5 separate regions of the Homo sapiens genome follow, and regions 2, 3, 4 and 5 are each linked to region 1. The links are contacts of gene promoters, found by promoter capture Hi-C in blood cells and fetal thymus (Javierre and others, 2016). All regions are on one chromosome and are shown on one strand. The core of a region is centred on a gene start or on the middle of the fragment in contact, and the rest is flanking DNA. Distances in the headings are between cores, read along the strand shown.

What was found. Contacts are between HindIII fragments. The CHiCAGO score rates a contact against its expected background, and 5 or more counts as called.
Region 2: a fragment that was not itself captured here is called in contact with the fragment with the promoter of ZNF280D in region 1 in 1 of 17 cell types (fetal thymus); the score reaches 16.8 in fetal thymus.
Region 3: a fragment that was not itself captured here is called in contact with the fragment with the promoter of ZNF280D in region 1 in 1 of 17 cell types (fetal thymus); the score reaches 5.2 in fetal thymus.
Region 4: a contact is called between a fragment that was not itself captured here and the fragment with the promoter of ZNF280D in region 1, in 1 of 17 cell types (fetal thymus). The highest score is 14.9, in fetal thymus.
Region 5: a fragment that was not itself captured here is called in contact with the fragment with the promoter of ZNF280D in region 1 in 1 of 17 cell types (fetal thymus); the score reaches 6.1 in fetal thymus.

What each region holds. Positions count from the first base shown.
Region 1 is chr15:56,732,214-56,734,776 of GRCh38, forward strand. It overlaps ZNF280D (zinc finger protein 280D), which reads right to left and starts at 1,296. Exons shown (of 22, transcript NM_017661.4): 1 at 1,245-1,296. RefSeq lists a silencer at 1,046-1,315. The HindIII fragment of the contact is 3,680 bases long and covers 1-2,107 here.
Region 2 is chr15:56,489,162-56,491,724 of GRCh38, forward strand. It overlaps a transcript of LOC105370832 not described here. Among named protein-coding and RNA genes, the nearest start is that of MNS1, 25 kb to the left of the region's middle. RefSeq lists an enhancer at 2,030-2,324. The HindIII fragment of the contact is 1,047 bases long and covers 753-1,799 here.
Region 3 is chr15:56,943,053-56,945,615 of GRCh38, forward strand. The region is part of intron 3 of TCF12 (transcription factor 12); the gene reads left to right. Among named protein-coding and RNA genes, the nearest start is that of TCF12, 26 kb to the left of the region's middle. The HindIII fragment of the contact is 4,869 bases long and covers 1-2,563 here.
Region 4 is chr15:56,533,028-56,535,590 of GRCh38, forward strand. All of the region lies in intron 1 of LOC105370832 (a long non-coding RNA gene), which reads right to left. Among named protein-coding and RNA genes, the nearest start is that of MNS1, 69 kb to the left of the region's middle. The HindIII fragment of the contact is 2,042 bases long and covers 269-2,310 here.
Region 5 is chr15:56,890,426-56,892,988 of GRCh38, forward strand. All of the region lies in intron 2 of TCF12-DT (TCF12 divergent transcript), which reads right to left. Among named protein-coding and RNA genes, the nearest start is that of LINC03065, 4.6 kb to the left of the region's middle. RefSeq lists an enhancer at 1,426-1,985. The HindIII fragment of the contact is 465 bases long and covers 1,044-1,508 here.

The DNA.
Region 1 (2,563 bases), core at 46-2,545:
TCCCTGAGGCTCTGTTTCCTCGCCTGCAAAATGATTCCAGCAACCCAGACCACTTCAAAAGGGGCTAAGAGATACAAATCAGGGGTTATCAATGAAAGGCACAAAAGCAAGACACAATTACAACAGTATTTGTAGTGATGTTAAAACATCAGAGGCACACAGCCCTAACAATGGTATAAGCAAACCAGTGCCTTCCCTGGTTAAGTTTCTGCGTGGAGACAGCTGGAGTTGGCACAGCAGTCCCCCAAAGCAGGACACCTTACAGATGCTAAGAGGCAGCTTTTGTGCTTTAAAACTGTCCTTCTAGCGTTCCATTTTATGTTTCATGGCACTAAAAAAGACAAATTCTGTCCAAACCTGAAAATAAAGCCAAATATTTAAGATGACAGATTTTTTTTTTTTTAACAAATCTTCGCAAACAAAGGCCTTTGGCCAAAGGTCTCCCGTGCTTGCAGAAGCGGGTTCACCTTGACGTTTTTCCTCTCCAGCAGATTTCTCCTTAAAAGCGTTAAAACTTGCGATAAGTTGGGAGGAATTCCTTCCATCGCTGGAGCAGGCTAAAACCTCAGAGTGAGATCATTCTTTCCGTCTCAGTAAGTGAACCTTGCAAAGCTCAGAAAATTTTGTCTCCAACTCCACGTTTCTCCTCAGGGCCCTTCTTCTGTAGACAATAACGGGAATTCTATGGCAGAGGAGGGGAGGTCTCTTTGACAAAAATGAGGGTGCAAACGTGGAACGACCGGTCATCTGGGCAAAATGAGGGGCCCTGTGCCTGCAAATCCCGAATCCCCTTTGGTCTCCTTTCCTACGACTGAAGAGACACGGGGGTGGGCTGTGGTGTGAGGACCATGGGTCTTGGCCAAACATCGGCACAAAATGTACCAAAGGGAGTTGCCTCCAGAGAGAAAAGCCAAAACCAGGCTGGGGACAAACAGGCGCACACGCCTGGGAGAGGAGGTGGCGGAGGAGCAGAAGGCGAAGGCCTGCGCGGCCCAGGCCTGCAGCAGCCGAGGCGGCTGCCGCGTCGCGCCGGGATACCTCCTCCCCCGCCTGGGCCGACGCAAGATGGCGGTCCGGCCGCCGCCGCGCAGCCGGTCTCCTCCCCCGCGCTCTGGGCGCTCCCGACGACCCGCGCCGGCCTCAAGACCCCCAGTCCAGCGCCCCCGGAGTGAGGCGGCGCAGGCCGCGCGGGAGGGCCTCTGCCTGCTGCAGCGCAGGGCGGGCGGGGGCGGGGGGGCGCTTACCGTGAGCGGAGCGGATCGGCCTGACTGGAGCCCTGAGGAGGAGGAGAAAGAGGAGGAGGAAAAGGAGGAGCACGAAAAACTACACTGCGGCGACGGCGGCGGCTCCCATTGCGGAGCTGGCAGCCGAGCCGTGGAAAGGGGGGGGCTCTCGTGCAGCCGGCGCGCTGCCTCATGGGTAGGCTCCGGGTCAGCCTCCCCGTGTCCGAGCTCCCTGTCTTCTCGCCGACGCGGGAGGCGGGCACCGGCATGTGCGCCGCGTCGCGGGCCCTCGAAGACCCACGCGCCCCGCCACGCGCCGGTCCGGGGCGAGGGCCAGGGCCCTGCCTCCATGTGGGTGCGAGCTGCTGGCTGGTGTGGCCGGGAGGCAGCCCCAAAATCCGGACTGCTCGGAATTTGCAGGCGAGGAGCCGTGCGTTCCGGGCCCTCCGCGTGTGTAACGACCCCCAGTCCGTTGGCTTGGAAAGTGAAAAGGTCATGGGATACAGCCGCCGTTCGAAAGAAGCAAGGGGCCTGTGGGTCGAAGACTAAACCAGGAGAGAAAAAGGAATCGTCCGTTTCTTTAAATAACGAGCTGATTTTACCAAGTCTGTTTTAAATGTGTGGTTTTGCTTGCGTTCCCTGTCGAGGTCAAATACGAAGAGACGAATCTGTACATTTAGCGTTTTATTTGGGACACAGGAATTGCAAGTTCAGGTTATTTACACATACAGGGTGGTCTTCAGTATGTCAGAAGAACAAAGAGGAGTTAGGGGGTTTTATTTTTTAAAAAAAGTTATCTATTGTTTTTCTAGAAAGTTCGTTGACATTTAGTAAAGTTTTGGGTAGCTGGTTAGTTCTGACTGGTGAGGGAAGGGGCTTGGTAAAGCTTGCCCTACAGCTGCAGCAGGTTCTTTGAGAAGCTAAAACCTGAAGATAAAACCTGTTTCAGGTTACAGCAGGCGGTTTCAGCAGCCAGGCTTGCTGAGAATTCCATTCTTAGAGCAATGTTATGTGCCCTGAGGGCTTCCCCCAGCACTGGCTTCTCCATTCTTTTAGTTGGCTATGACAAGAGTGACCCAATTAGAATGATTAACTTGCACACTCTAATTCCTAACTCTGCCATCTGCATATTAACCTGTAATAGCATTTTTTAAAGTTTGACAACGAGAAGTATAAGAAATTTACAAGAAGAACACTTGCCAAGATACTGCTTGCGTAAATACTTGCTAAAGGTTGTATTCTGATCTGTAAGGAAAGTTTCCTAAACTGATTGTCTTCTCAAGAGCAATGGCATTACTGGTGCAGCTTGTGAGTGACCAAGACTTGAAATCTTGCCTGTT
Region 2 (2,563 bases), core at 26-2,525, 240 kb before region 1:
TAGGCTCACATCCAGCATCTCTGGCTGCTCCTTGTCCCGGGGCTTGGATGGCCAATGCCCCTCAAATAACACTATCTCAATTACTTATTCCAAAAGCCAGTCAACATTTATTCCACAGCTCATTGAATACATACTCAGCACATACATGTGCTAGTTATTGTTAGGTAGTGGGGATACAATGCCAAATAAGTTAGAGTTCTTGCTCTCATGAAACTGTCAATTCATTGAGGAAGAGGGTCACAAATAATCACAACAAAATAGCAATCTTGATTCTACTTCCCCAATGTTACTCTTCGTTCAACTCTTATTTCCACTCACCTAGTTTAGGCCTTGAAAATGAGTAATAATGTCCTAAGCAGCCTTCCTGTATCCAGTCTCTCCCTTCTTGCCAATCTAGTTTAAACCTTGCTGCCAAATTCCTCTTTCTGAAACACAACCCTGTTCATGTAATCTGTTAATTGAGGAAGCCTTCATTGAGCACCTACTAAGTACAAAAAAAATGCAAGGTCTTCCCTCCTATAATGTAGGGTCAATTTATGGCTCAAAAATCCCAATCATGTAATATCGATTAAGAAGTAAACTTAGCAGATATCTAGTCCCCACCAGAATCTCCTATATTAATCTCTCTATAAATGATAAATGGACAGCTGGATGGAGAATCCATTTTTTTAAAAGGAGCCAAATACATATTCAAGAAGCTGGAATTTTTACAATTTCTTCCTCCAGTCCCGCTTCCTGCTCAACAGAATACAAGCTTCTTCATTGCCATTCAAGACCTTCTGTAGGCCAGGCATGGTGGTTCACACCCATAATCTCAGTACTTTGAGAGGCCAAGGTGGGAGGATCGCTTGAGCCCAAGAGTTTGAGACCTGCCTGGACAACACAGTGAGACCTTGTCTCTACAATAAAATAAAATAAAAACTAGCTGGGCATTGTGGCATGCTCCTGTGGTCCCAGCTACTCGGGAGGCTGAGGTTGGAGGATTGCTTGAGCCCAGGAGTCAAGACTCCAGTGACCCACGATCATGGTACTGCACTCCAGCCTGGGTGACACAGCAAGACCCTGTCTCTTAAGAAACTAAAGTAAATGAGAAGCTGAGGCGGGAGAATTGCTTGAGCCCAGGAGTTTGAGAACAGCCTGGGCAACATGGTGACACTTCATCTCTGCAACAAATACAAAAATTAGCCTGTCATGGTGGTGTGCACCTGTAGTCCCAGCTACTCAGGAGGCTGAGGTGGAAGGGTCACCTGAGCCCAGGGAGTTTGAGGCTGCAGTGAGCCATGATCACACCACTGCACTCCAGCCTGGGCAACAGAGTGAGATCTTCTCTTAAATAAAAATAAAATAAAAAGACCTTCTGTAGTTTGACCCTAAGGCACTCATGTCTTAGTTTCTGATATTCTCCCTTTACAGTACCCTCCCTGGATGTGCTTTCACACCACCACACTTTCCCCTTATTCCACATAATCAAATATTACACATCCTTCAAAGCCAAGGTCAAGGTCCACCTTCTCCATAACACCATGCTGAGTCCCTCAGCTGACTCATTACCTCCCTCACCTGAGATCCCTCAGGCTTTACTTTTACCTTCCTTAGGGGTTTCTATCTTTGATGATTGGTGCACCTGTCCTTTTTTTCATGCCTCATTGAAAGGTCCATGAGATTTGGGCTTATCTCCTGAATGTCTCCGTCTCCTCCATGGTACCCAGCATAGTGACTTGGAAGTTTCACTTGACAGACACTCGTGGAATGAACAGAGCAGTGATTCTCGGATCTGTTTCTTATTTTGTGAAAGGAGAAGCTTTCTTAACATACAAACATTTCTACTAACTCTAATATTATAATTCCTAAATTTAAAGTATTAGCTAGTATTGTATGCCTGATACTGTGTTTCCCATTTCGAAGACACAATTGTGACTTTTTGGGGGGAAAGAAAATACACAAGAAACAATTCACTTATAAACTGAATATAAAAAATGCTAGTTGTTAGCAACAGAAAATAACAAAGTTGCTCATACTGGGAGGACATACATGTAGTCAAGAGTCACCAGAGCATTAAAAGGAAGAGGTGCTAGCTGAGCTGAGCTTTGAAATCCCCATACAGTTCTTAAGTCCTGGGCATTTTAAGCCGGGAACGAAGGCTCAGTCAGGGCCACTAGAGGGAGCCAAGGCTTGCAATCTGCAGAACACGCTTTCTGGCTGAATTAGCCTTGGGTTCACAGATTCTAAAACATTTGCTTAGCAGATTGAAAAGGATCATCTTTATCACACATCTACAGGACCATTTCTAAAATGCAAGCTATGTTGAGTTTATTTTCAGTTTTTAGTAATGTTAAACCCCTTTGGAGAAGATAAATATTAAGAACTTAATGTCTGTGCATTTCATGCCATTTTCGCCAGTGAATATATCCTGAGACTTATTGGTGAGCTAATCTGAGATATTTAACAACCCCTGATGGGGTTTCTGGGGATGGAGGTAGAGAAGGACCAGGTGGGATCCTGTTCTATTCCCCTCCCACCTAATCAGACTGGCCGGGAGCTGGGCTGTCCTGGACCCACCAGT
Region 3 (2,563 bases), core at 35-2,534, 210 kb after region 1:
CCTATACCTTATTCCCACTCCTTGGCAGAGGTTTTCCTCTGTTCAGTTTCTCCTGAGAGCTTTTCGTCTATATGTAAATGATGCATAGCCTCTTATTTTTTACACAATAGGGAACAAATAGTTCTGCAACTTCACCTTTTCATTTAACAAGAGGATAATAGGGGATCACTATGTGAAGGACATTATTGAGCCCATACTGATTTTAGTAGGATCTGTGATTTTCTAAAATATGTGTAATGATTTGACCTAATTATACATGATTCTACATGCATATGACTTAAGCTAAAAAAAAGAAGAGCATTAGCATTTCTTGACAATCATAAGATTTCAGTTTTACCAACTTATATAATTATTCTCCTTGTTTAGAAAACAGACAAGTCCTACTGTAATAAAAAGCCTTCAATAAAATGTTAGTTCCTTATGTATAGGCCCTTGTACAGGGCACACTTTTATATGAATTATTTAACATACTCTTCATAATAACTCTTTGAAGCTGATTCAGTTTTACTCTCATTCTTGCAGAAAAGGAAACAGGCTTCAGGAGGTTGAGTAACAAAGCTAGTAAGTAGCAGAATTAGGTTTCAAAGCTGATCCATGAAATAATGCAGCAATAGCTAGTTCAAATTGTTTAAAAGCGAGTCTCATGGACAGTGGTTTAATATCCTGTTACCAAATATCTCACTTATTTAATATAAAAATTTGGTAAAGTCATTATTACAATGTATTTGATGGTGGGATTGGTTCTAGAAAGGGAACTGATTCTTGCTTAATCCATACCCAACATTGTATTAGTGTCACCTGGGGAGCTTTTAAAAAATTATTCCTGGATCCCCAACCCCAGGCATTCCAGCGGCATGAAGCTGGTGTTGAACCTAGGAATCGTAATTTTTAACAAGCTACCTACTTAATTTTTAGGCAGCCAGTCTGGCTGCAGTTTAGAACCATTGAAGTGTGTGTCTTTTATTTCAAATTTATGAATATGAGGTCTTCATTTTCCACTTGTTTTCTTTCTGAAGATAATGAACCATTACCTAATGGAAACAAACATGAAAAACTTGAAATTTTATTTAATGTGTTCAAAACAGAAGTTTTCATTTGTTGAGCTATGTATTATATTGTGTTAAATGGATTTTATTATTTCCATAGGGCCATATTATAACAGACAGTGAATTAAACTGAAAACTTTATCTTGTCTCTTGCAGAAGCAAATACTGTGAAAATACTTTGTAAAACCACTTTGTAAAATGTATAGGTTGGAACAGAATTAAGTGATTGAGACTCTGAAGGCTCTGGAAATGGGTTGTCAGTTTTATTTTCAGCCGAGAGCAAGATAATACTTATCTAAATAAATAATTGTGGGTTAGATATGTTGTCTTGTAATTGCTTTAAACGTTGAGCCTAGATTACCAAGCTGCTAAGACAAGGGAATTAAAAAATAAGTCACTTAGTGGCCTTTATTTTGTATATACATATTTTTTGCATTTTGATAAACCTGTATAAAATTAGTAAAAAATTACTTTCCCTTCTTTAAGAGTTCTACTTGCCAGGAGCCAGAGTAGAAAGATTGGCTGGCAGTATTCCTGGCATTGTAATTTTTAGTGCACTAGATATTTTCGTAGAATATTGATTGTTCTGTGAACCTTCTTACCATGGGGACAGTGAAGTCAGCAAGTCACACTACATTAAACAAACACTGAGTAACATTAACTGCAAAATAGTATGAGAAATAGAGAAATATGATACAGACTGTGTAAAAAATGGTAAGTATAAGTGTTTGGAGGAAGGGGTTAATTCTTCCATTTGATATATTAAGAGATTCTATTTCCATATAAATTGTAATTACCTTGTCGATTTCTATTAAGCCTGCTGGGATTTGGGGAATATTGATATCTTAACAATACTGAGTCTTGCAATACATGAACATATCTCTTATCTATTTAGGTCTTCTGTAAATTTTCCTTGGTAATATTTTGCACTTTCAATTTATAGGTCTTACACTCATTTTGTTAAATTTATCCCTAAGAGTTTTTACGTTCTTTGGTTCTATTATATGTGGCATTAAAACTTTTCCAATTGTTTGTTGCTGGTATATAAAAATAGTGATTGATTTTTATATTGACTTATTGGTATGAAATTATTCACAATATTCCATTATTGTTTTATTGTGTTTAAGATATGTAGTCATGTTTCTTCTTTTCTGCCTGATACTGGAAATTGTGTCTTTTTGCTTTTTTCTTAATCCGTCTTAAGAGAGAGTTTATATTAATCCATGTATTTTCAATTTCCAGTGTTCTTCATTTCTTTGTGTATATTCAGGTATTCATCTTGTCTCATTTTCCTTCTGCCCGAAGAATTTTCTTTACATTTTTTATAGTGCAGGACTGCAGGTAATAAATTCTCTTTATTTTTGCTTATCTGAGAGGTTTTAATTTTGCCTTTGCTTTTGAAGGATATTTTTGCTAGATATAGAATTCTAGATTGACCTTTTTTTTTCCTTTTGATGATGAAATAGTGTCTTTCCATTGTATTTTGGCTTTCATTATTTTTCAAGTCTGCAATAATG
Region 4 (2,563 bases), core at 40-2,539, 200 kb before region 1:
TAATTATAAAGAGCAGGGAGGAGACTCTAAAAATCTCTTCTGAGTGGCAAAAATTCTGAAAATCAAGATAATTACAACATTAGCTCATCCTGATTTGCTTGGCTATTTATAGATGAGAAGAAGCTGATGCACTGAGAGCTGTTTCTTTTTTTTTTTTCTTTTCTATTTGCATTAAATCCTGTGTGGCTCCTCTCTGAAATGTGTGCATATGCTGAGTCCATGTGAGATGCCACCACTGGCACTTGTCATAAGAATTAAATCCCTCTCAAGCTTGTTTACAGCTCAGCACTTGTCATACTGCTCCCTTGAGCTTCATGGCTGGTTGGGTTCTTTTTTACCCCAGCTCTGCGGAAGATTTAATTTCTTTTTTGTTTATGTGTGTACTTACCCTTGCAGGTGCAGGATAGAAAAAATTGCTGTGCCCAGATGTTTTGAAGCTGCAGTAGCATATATACAGCTCAGATTAAATAGAAAAATTGCATAAGATAAAGCAGGCACTTCGAGTACAGTATTCTACAGGGTATTTGATAAACCTATCATGTTTTCTTGACAATAAGACTCTTGAATATAACTTTAGAAACAGAGGAATGTTTTAAGGCATCACCAGCTCAACTCATTTGTAGATGATTTTACAATGAGATTTGTCATTTTTGAGCAGGGCCTATTACATTTACCCCATTTTCAACTTAGAAAATATCTTCCCAGAACAGAACAGTCTGGGAATTGGGTGGAAACAACACCTAGCAAACTGTCTCAGCTCATTACTGGATTAGTTAGACCTCAGGGATCTGAGGCCAGATTTTGTCTTAGTTTTGGAACACAGCAAACATAACCCAAGCACAAACAACCCTCTTGCTACTCGTTGAGCTCTGTGCTAATATGCAAAAGCCCTGCCTGAGTCACAGATGGAAAATGCTTCTACACACCCTCAGTTTGGATTTTCATTTACCCAATGCAATGGGTTAACCTGTTTTGCACACAGCAACTGTCAAATAAGACAAGGAGTTCAGCTCAGGAGAAGAGAATAATGCTCAAAATTCTTGACTCCCCTTCAACAGCCTCCAACAATTGTTTCCCAGCACTGCATGGAGGCAGCTCACCACCTTTGGCAAAGCCTAGACTGTGATGCTTGTCATGAAGGCCTATACAATACACCCAGCTCTGCTTTGTGACATAGTCCCCGTGAGGGCCTGGGGAGAATGTTACCATATTTAGCTTTCCCAGGAGGTGTGGAAGAGTTCCCAGCTGTCCTGCTTAAGATGTTGGTTTAAACCAAATCCTTCATCTGCCTTTGCTCATGAAGCTAAACACCCACAGTAGAACTGGGAAAAGAGTACCTTAGGCCTCAGTTTATTTGTAGAGAGGAAAAGGTTCACACAAAAAAGAGAAAAAGAGATGCTCTCCCTTTTTAATTTGAGTGCCAGTCCTGGATCCCCAGTTGGCAAAGCCTTTTATAGTCATTTCTGCCCCAGAATTCTGCATCTGCAAGATCAGAGCTTATTAGTATTATCTCTTACTCTTCCTCCCAACATTGCCACTAGAGACTGTAAAAGGTTCAGACTATACACACTGAAAGGCAAATGGCTCTTGTTTAGCTATCATAGTGCAGGGTTTTGCTTGCACTAAAAGACATATATTCCTCTAGCCATACCAATAATATTAAACACTCACTTCACCCCAAAATCCTCTAGAACCTCAGTAGAACATGGAGAATATATTAGAAATCTGTATCTCTTATAACAGACCATATGTGAGTTACTATTTAGAGTAAGTCAAGAATACAGTTATATCCCACATAACAATGTTTTGGTTCGATGCCAGACTGCATATATGATGGTGGTCCCATAAGATTATAATGGAGCTGAAAAATTCCTATTGCCTAGTGATGTTGTAGCCATGGTAACTTCTTAGTGCAACACATTAATCACACGTTTGTGGTGATGCGAGTGTAAACAAACCTACTGCACTGGCCGGTGAAAAAGAATAACACATACAATTATGTGCAGACATAATACTTGATAATAAACAACTGTGTTACTGATTTATGTGTTTACTATGCTATACTTTTTAAATTATTGTCTTAGAGTATACTCCTACTTATTAAAAAAAAAGGAACTGCAAAACAGCCTCAGGCAGGTCCTTCAGGAGGTATTCCAGAAAAAGACATGATCATAGGAGATGACGGCTCCATGAATGTTAATGTCCCTGAAGACCATAAGATGTGGAGGTGGAAGACAGTAGAACTGATCATCCTGACCCTTTGTAGGCCTAAGATAACGTATGTGTTTGTGTCTTTGTTTTTAACAAAAAAGCTTAGAAAGTGAAACATTAAATAGGAAAAAGCTTATAGAATAGGATATAAAGAAATATTGTTGTACATCTGTACAATGTGTTTGTATTTTAAGTATTACAAAATAATCAAATAGTTAAAAAAAGTTTATAAAATAAAAAAGTTACAGTAAGTTTAGGTTAATTTACTATTGAAGAAAGAAAAAAATTTAGTGTAGCCTATGTGTACAATGTTTATAAAGTCTACAGTAGTGTACAGTAGTGTCCTAGGCCT
Region 5 (2,563 bases), core at 26-2,525, 160 kb after region 1:
GATTTTTACTTAAAATAGGGGTATGGTTATCAGAAGAAGCACAGATGTGCCCTGGGTAATGGAAACAGCAGACACAAACACATCCCTGGTATTTTATTGAGGTCTCCAAACATTCTTCCCCTACATATGCCTTCAATGATATCTATGGCTACTCAATGTAACAATGTTTTTTTACCACCCAAAATGTACTCACATCTAGGTCCTACAAATAACTCCAAGTCCAGGATAGTAAGGTGATATGCATGCCTCTATATCATAAAGCAATTTGATAAAGTTCTTCATGGCCTAGTAACCTAAGGCTGTATGATAAAATTAACTAGAAAATACTTAATATATAATGACAGAAAAAAAGAACAACTGCAATGAAAATGCATATTTGGAAATATGAATAATGACAAACACAAAATGTCTCTAATTCATAGCATATGTCATATCTTGCTAGACAGGAATAGCAAGGGCTTCCTAACATGAGAGGGGAGAAAGTTCTTTGATCAACCAATCTGGCTGCCATATGTTCTATTTCTGGAGGACCTCTCATTCATTGTTCCTCCATGGCTATGTCTGTAATGGACAATGGGAGGATAATCCTTTAGGGACTACACCTCTTCAGCATTCTCCTTCCTGATCTAGTGGGAATTGAAAAATCACTTCCTATGGCAAAGATAATTAGCTTTTACCACCCAAGAGTTGTGAACCTCTTCTGTTGTATACAATTGTTGCTGGGAAGTAGCTACCTAGCCAGGGGCTACATTTCCCAGCCTCCTTGTTAACTTTGGTAAAGTCACATGACTGTCTCCATTGGAATATGAGTGAAAGTGATGTGTACCACTTCTAGCCAATTTGGTTAAGTAGTAGGTATGCCTTTGCCAGTCTCTTTTTCCCTCTTCTGGCTGCACTGAAAGGTCTCTAAGAACCTGGAGGACATTAGAGCCATAAGATAGAAGGAGTCTGGGTAGTTGAATGATTTTGTAGAAGACCACCTGCTACTTAGGGGCACTGATGTTAGACTTTACAAAAGTGAAAAATAAATATCTATTGTGTTAAGCTTAAGTAACCTAGCCTTTCTTCTCCACACTTAGGATTTCTCTCACAGTACAATTTTCTTTAATTCTTTTTTTTTTTTTTTTTTTTTTTTGAGACAAAGTCTTGTTCTTGTTGCCCAGGCTGGAGTGCAGTGGTGCTATCTCAGTTCATGCAATGTCCACCTCTCGGGTTCAAGCAATTCTCCCACCTCAGCCTCCTGAGTAGCTGGGATTTCAGGTGTGTGCCACCACACCTGGCTAATTTTTGCATTTTTAGTAGAGACAGGGTTTCACCATGTTGGCCAGGCTGGTCTTGAACTCCTGACCTCGGGTGATCCGCCTGCCTCGGCCTCCCAAAGTGCTAGGATTAGAGGCATGAGCCACTGTGCCTCGCCCAGTTTTCTTTAATTCTTAGTAAACTTCTAGTCTATTTGCATCTGGCCAATTCCATAGGGGGAGAATTCCAAAGCCAGAGGGTTTTTTTTAAGCTTCAGTCTTTGAATCTAGATTTTCATCTGAGCATTTTTGTCTTTTAGTAATAGGCCTTGGTATTCTAACTTAGAGGCCTCTATTTTGGTTTCTGCCTGATAACAATTTGAAACAATAGCCACTGGGTTTGCAAGGGGAGGGAGTGATGATGGTGTGTGAGCTGGTGGTGGAGGGAGTAGAGTGGAATAACTATTACCTTTCTCAGCAGGCAGGAATTGCTTGAAAGAGGCCTGAGTGTATTAAGACTTCTCCCTAGTGCCAATGTTATCCATTCTTGCCTTCATTAACATTAACATCCTCTTGGGGCTTTTTCAACCCTTTATGGCTCCAGATTATTGATGTTTCTGTCATCTTTTATTGCAGCCTATAAGCAAAAATGTTCACTTGTAACAAAGTGGTATCTTTTCCTCTCTGCCTTAGATAAATCAATCTTAGTCCTAAGTTTGAGCCTTTCTTAAAGGACATTACTAAAAACTAACAAGTAATAGTTGATATATTTTAGTATCCGACCTTTTAACAACAGGCCCTTTTACATTTTATCCTTGATAGGCACATGTTCTGAATCCCACTATACAACAGGTGCCAGTTTAACCTACTGCTTTGGTATCGAAGTCCCAGCCTGATACCAATGAGGCCTCATCTGAATCAGCTACTTCAACATTTCTGGATCTTTCTGTTACTAATCCCCATTCCTGGTATCAATTTATGAATTGTTAGAGCTATTTTAGTGAAAAACTAGTTATATATTTAGCTTAAGGCATAGTTTGATCCAAGGGCTTAAGCAATGTCATTAGAATTCTATTTCTTTTCATCTCTTGACTCTGTCTTGTGTGCTGGCTTCATTTTTAGGCTCCATGTGGTGGCTGCTGACAGCTCCAGTTTACATAATCCTTACTGTTAGCAATCTCAGTGGAAGAGTGCATGCTTCCTTCCCACAGGTGCCAGCAATAGTCTTCTTACATTTCACTGGCTCTGATTGGGATATGTGGCTAGAGGAATCCAGTAGCTCAGGTCTGATTCATGTCATTAATGTTTTTGAAAATGAAGTTCAC